2 separate regions of the Homo sapiens genome follow, and region 1 is linked to region 2. The links are contacts of gene promoters, found by promoter capture Hi-C in human tissues and cell types (Jung and others, 2019). All regions are on one chromosome and are shown on one strand. The core of a region is centred on a gene start or on the middle of the fragment in contact, and the rest is flanking DNA. Distances in the headings are between cores, read along the strand shown.

The links. The method cuts DNA at HindIII sites, captures the fragments that hold promoters and counts their contacts. A contact is called where the count stands out against the background at its distance.
Region 1: a fragment that was not itself captured here is called in contact with the fragment with the promoter of ADH7 in region 2 in 1 of the 25 tissues and cell types used here (aorta).

What each region holds. Positions count from the first base shown.
Region 1 is chr4:99,069,880-99,072,720 of GRCh38, forward strand. It overlaps ADH5 (alcohol dehydrogenase 5 (class III), chi polypeptide), which reads right to left. Exons shown (of 9, transcript NM_000671.4): 8 at 2,694-2,832; 9 at 1,099-2,562. The coding sequence ends at 2,538. Among named protein-coding and RNA genes, the nearest start is that of ADH5, 17 kb to the right of the region's middle. The HindIII fragment of the contact is 4,225 bases long and covers 1-2,841 here.
Region 2 is chr4:99,433,564-99,436,635 of GRCh38, forward strand. ADH7 (alcohol dehydrogenase 7 (class IV), mu or sigma polypeptide) reads right to left here and starts at 1,779. Exons shown (of 9, transcript NM_000673.7): 1 at 1,653-1,779. The coding sequence starts at 1,670. RefSeq lists a promoter at 1,692-2,265. The HindIII fragment of the contact is 9,235 bases long and covers 1-3,072 here.

The DNA.
Region 1 (2,841 bases), core at 129-2,628, 360 kb before region 2:
CCACAGGCACATGCCACCATGCCCGGCCAATTAAAAAAAAAAAATTTTTTTTTTTTCTAGAGATGACATCTGTGTTGCCCAGGTTGGTCTTGAACTTCGGAGGCCAAGTGATCCTCCCACTTTGGGCTCTCAAAGTGCTGGAATTACAGTTGTGAGCCACCGCACTTGGCCTATTTTAATATTAATCATCTTAAAACTGCTTTACATTTTCATATTGGCGAACCTAAAAAACGTTTGCCATTGCAATTCATGAATATCTCATGTTTGTTTGAGAAGAAAAGTCAAAGGAACAAGACCTTTAGGAGTTACTGGCTCTCCTCCATACTCTCCATAACTGTTTTGTTACTGCAGTTGCCAACATAGGATACTTTTGTTCCTAGAAGGCTGGGCTACACCAAAGATTAAAAGCACATTTCCTACAAGTGGAGTAGAAGCTAGTTTTAATTTCGTCTTCCTTTCAGTCCACTTAAGATAACAGTTGTGGCCCCTTTGGGCCCTCATATCTCCAGCCCTCTAGGTAAAACAGGAGGGAAGCTGGACTACATTGTCAGGCACTTCAAATGCACCAAAGTTCTGAAAAGGGGAAATCCTGACCATTACTACCAGTTTGTTTCCCACTTTTCAATCAATGACATATTGCTCTCTCACACAATTCTGTGGGAGCATTTAAACCATATCAATAAATTGAAAAAGCACATAGCATCAATCCAACCAAAAGATATTTGCATGGTAAACGTGATGCACTGATATAAACTCTATGTTATCATGTGGAGAAAAAAGTTCACAGAGTAGTGTTGATAGTATTCCTTTCGTGTAATTTTAGAGGATATATATGCTATTGTGTGCATAGAAACTCCTAAAAAGATACGTAAGAAACTTAACAGTAATCACCCATTTTTTTGCAGGTGTATAGCTTTTCTTTCTCATTATATAATTTCCTAACAATTTATATTTTCTAACCCTTAGGTATATTGCATTCATTAATTTATTTTTATGTCAAGGATTATCAGGATGGTAAGATCCTGGACCATTTTTGTTTGCTTCTTTATACTTCTCAGGATAAAATAACCTAAATGTTACTTACCACCACCAGGAAGATTTATGTGACTACATTAAAACTTTATTCAACAAAATACCATAAAGTAAAAAGAAAAGTCACAAGATAGACTAGAAGATATTTGCAACATATAAAACTGACAAATGATTGATGTCTAGAATAAAAGAACTCCTAAAAATTATTCAGAGAAAAATAATTCAATACAAAGTTGAGCACAGGATATGAACAGGTTCTTCACAATAAAATGTCCATTAGAATGAAGGATTTAACGAGAATTGAGGAAAATGCAAACTAAAGTCATAATAAAACACCATTCCATACTCATGTAATTCACAAAAACTCACATTTACTTTGAAGAGCAATTTGGCAATGTCTATAAGGCTAAATGTGTTTATTCTGTGATACGTCTTAGGTAACACGCAGTGAGCCCAATGCAGAAGAATGTTCCACTACAGTGTTATAATACAGAAACTGGCAACAACTTCATGCCTTCAACTGGAGAACAGATAAATTATGGTAGTTCCCGTAATTGAATTCTGCTACACAGGACTAAAATTAATGAACGAGAGCTTCAGATATAATTATACAATAATGAGTGAAAAAAGCTGTAGAATGAGCAAGTATGAGGCTTAAAAATATATAAAACAGTACTAAAGAGTAGATGGTTTAGGTTATACACAGTGAAAGTACAACAACACAGGAATGATAAACATCAAATTGTGGATAATTGTTACCTCTGGAGGGGAGGAATGGCAATGTGATCTCGAAGTGGCAAAATGTTAAGATTTGACAAAAGTAGGTGCTGAGAACTTGGATATTCAGTATGTAGTTCACTATACTAGAAATAGTACAGTCACAACCAACACATACATACACCTATTTAAGCCCAGAATGCTGTTTCAATAATACATTTTAGTGCCCCCTGAAGGGCAGATGCCATCCTAGGAATTTGGGGTACAGGTATGAACAAGGCACAGTACCTCCCTTCAAGATAATATCACAGAAGCAGACTTGGGTCCTGATTAACTTTGTCACTGATGGCTAGGATCTGTTCTTTAATCAACGGGGACTGAGACCCTTAAAAGTTCAACGTTATGTTTCTGAGGTTTCAGACACCCACCACTGCCCTGCTTCCTTTCCCTTTCCCTTGCAGAATGAAGATAATGGGCAGACAAACCGTGACAATGATGACAGCATAAAACAAGACAATTTCCACACAAATGTAGAAATTACTTTTATTATGTTAAAATATTCCTTAATAAACTAGCAATTATTTATGTGGAGGAGCATCCAGAAAACAGGTTCATGACTGAATTATCCTTGTCCTTGATTATAGAGATTCATGAATGACACACATAACCCTATTTTCTGGAGTAGCTGTGAAGCTCTACGAGGCTGTGAGGTTGGAGGCGCTTCTCCCTGCCTGTTAAGCTGCTCCTATCACATCACGACAGGATGGACATTATTTTTCTCTTTTGAATTAAATCTTTACAACAGTTCGAATGCTGTAAAAGGAAGCAACATACTAAGTTTTAAATGATACCTTTAAGACAACTAAAATTGTGTTTTTCGACTCTCCATCCCCTCAAACTCAACATCATTATTACATTCTATGATATATAAAGAGAAAGCCTACCTCTTTCCAGAATGCATCAGTTCAAAGGCTTTGTTGATTTCATCAAAAGACAGATTGTGAGTCACAAATTCATCAACTTTTATCTTTTTGGACATATATTCAGACACCAACTTTGGGACACTTTCTACACTCTTCCATCCTAAAAGAA
Region 2 (3,072 bases), core at 529-3,028:
AGAAGGTGACTGTATTTGGAGATGGGGTCTTTCAAGAAGTAATTAATTTAAAATGTGGTAATCAGGGTGGAACCTGATCCAATATGGCTGGTGTCTTTATTAGAAGGGGAGATTAGGAAAAGGGAAGATCATGTGAAGACAGCGAGAAGAGGGTCATCCACAAGCCAAGGACACAGGCCTCAGAAGAAACCAACCCTGATGACACCTTAATCTCAGAATTGCAGCCTTCAGATGTACAAGAAAACAAATTTCTGCTGTTTAAGCCACCCAGTCTGTGATATTTTGTTATGGAAGCCCTAGGAAACTAATACAGTTATCTTTTACTTTTTTAATGAAAAAGAAAACATTTATTATAAAGAGAAAAAATCAATCCCAATGTAAAGGGAAACTCCTTTCAAGAGCTACACTGGAACACTACAGAAAGTTGGGAAATATATAATCCTTAGGCAAACCACACTATTGCATGACCATATATCAAAATCATATAACTTTTATACTCTTTATATATTATATACTGTATTATTAATTGGAAAGTGCTGCCTTGAGGCTACTTTCTCCATCATCAGAAATGTTCTTACAGTGGATGAATATCGACTTCCTAGAAATAGTGTAACCAGACCTGAAGCATCTGTTGGGTGGTAAAAGTTGCAAATTTTTAAGATTCCTTTCAGTTCTAAGATTCATTAATATCCATGGGTAGAGTTGCTAGTTTCTGTAGTGCAAAATTAACTTCCCAAGTAATCTAGTTTTGCTGGATTTCTGACCCAAATTAGGATGGTTTTATTCCAGTTCTATCCAATTCTAGTAAAACTTATTTCAAATTCTAACATCATAGAGTCTCCTGACTTGTCACATTACCCAGACTTCTCATGTCATCTTTATTTTTCCAAAACCTTAAGCAAGCTAAATGCAAAATTGTTCAAGTTAAAACAAAACAAACAAAAAAATTTAGTCCTTTAAGCAATTATGTACCCATTTAAAGTAAGGAAATATACTGACCTATTTTCAAATAAAAAAAAACAAAGCAAAGCTGTTTCTAAAGTTAATACCAACTCTGCTAACTCTGTTGTTTTTAGAACGATAAACATACTTTACCAATAATATAGTCTTGATTTTAAAGAATTTTTAAATATATATTTTGATAAAAATTACATTTGTAAGAAACCTAAAATTCATGACACTTTCTTGGCCATTTTGCATCCCAGAATTAGCATTTTCCATTCTTAATGGCAGGAACGTTTCTTCCAACATCTGGGCATGAGACCCTGGTTTCCCATTGAACTACTGCAGCGAGTGCAGCACATGCTACTGAGACGATTGAAGTGTCCTTGTGGAAACATTTGGCTTCCTGGAGCAATTGCCCAGCTATCCGGAAATCAAATTATGAATAATGCCAATATAAATCAATTTCTCTATTTTCCACCAATGTCTTGCTGACATTGGATATACTATTTCCAACTTACCCCTGCTTCCACTGACATTCTCTGAAACACCATATCCAGTGTTTCCCTCACTGTATGCCTGCTCACCAAGCATTTCATTCCTCAAGGAATATCTCCAAGTGTTTAATTACTTTAATGGATTCAAAGTTCTAAGTATCAGCCTCACATCATTAGGTCATGATGAGGAGGGGACAGAAATGTTCCACTTACTTTTCCAGCAGTGCCCATCCTGTCTTTGTCTTGGATCTGTATTTCTGCAAACATAGACTTTTTCTGACTGATGCTCAGTTCACTCTGTTGTATATAACAGCAGCTTGTGCCTTCACATAGATAGTCTGGCTTCAGAGTTCCACCTTCAGCAATATGACTCACAGCCGTCACAACTTTGCAATGGTCTGCAAGCCCTACCCTTTGCAGACCAACTTATAAAAAGAAATACAGTAACTACTATGATCAAACCAAGAGGAGGGATCTAACAAAAACAAGATAATCAAAGCTATTGAAAAGGGCTGAAAGCATTCCTATCCACCTTATTTTGAAGGATATAAAAACGGGTTAGGTTACTTCACTTCAACACAATCATGAAAAATGTATTGGGTGTTTAAGTGCAAGCTGCTTTGCCTAGGCATGGCTGATTTTAGAGATGCGTGTGTACATCTCTACTTCTTAATGCTCTACTTCATTCTGCAAAGACTTGATGTGGTTTCTGGAATTAAATATAAATGAAAACAGAGCCAAGGAAATGTAAAATAATTGCAACAGTAGGTCAAGTTTGGGCAAGAGAAGTTGAGATGATATAAAATATCAATATGGATGACTATGGTTTCTAAGTATTTTAGGTGTAGAAAGTTAAGTGAAACTTTCTGTGTCTGCACTTAGAGAAATTATCATCTGACTCCAAATCCCATTAACCACAGAGTTGCCTCATATGGTTGTACAGTTTGTTTACGGCACCAATGTAACACAGTGCAGGGGCTCAAGAGAAATTGAAATCCAGCCTGCATACTGGCTATCGAATGCCAGAGGGTTTTCATCTACTTGGGCAAGTACCTAGGTCTTCTTGAGTAGCTGTTTAACCATTACAGACCATTATTTCTTAATATAAGTTGCAATGGCTCCAGAAGCTTCTGGATCTATTATTTGATAGGAGAATGTCCAGTATAGATGTTATTTTTGACAGTAGATGGTCAGCATACTGGTACACCAGATGGTCAGCATACTGGTACACCATCACCTCCAAGAAAACTTTACACAAAGGATATTTTACTTTTGTTAAGTGATCCAGTGAAGCAGGTTTTCTAAGTCTTCAGACAAAGCTGTTCAAGCTATGAAGTCCAGAACCTGGACTCTTAACAACCCAGAGATGAAATTTGCTAAGAGTTTATTTTTCAGATACAAACAAAAGTTTCTTTTCAAAAATAAGTATACATTTTTTCCACACATCTCTCTTTCAATATAACATAGTAAATGTACATCCAATTTAACATATATTATGTCAAATTCAGAATTTGTAATTAGAATTTGTTACTACAACTCATTAACCAAATCAAATCCACCAGGAAAAACCATTGCCAGTTGATTTGGCTTGTGAGTAAGCACCATTGCTTTAGCAGTAGTGCTGAAGAACTCC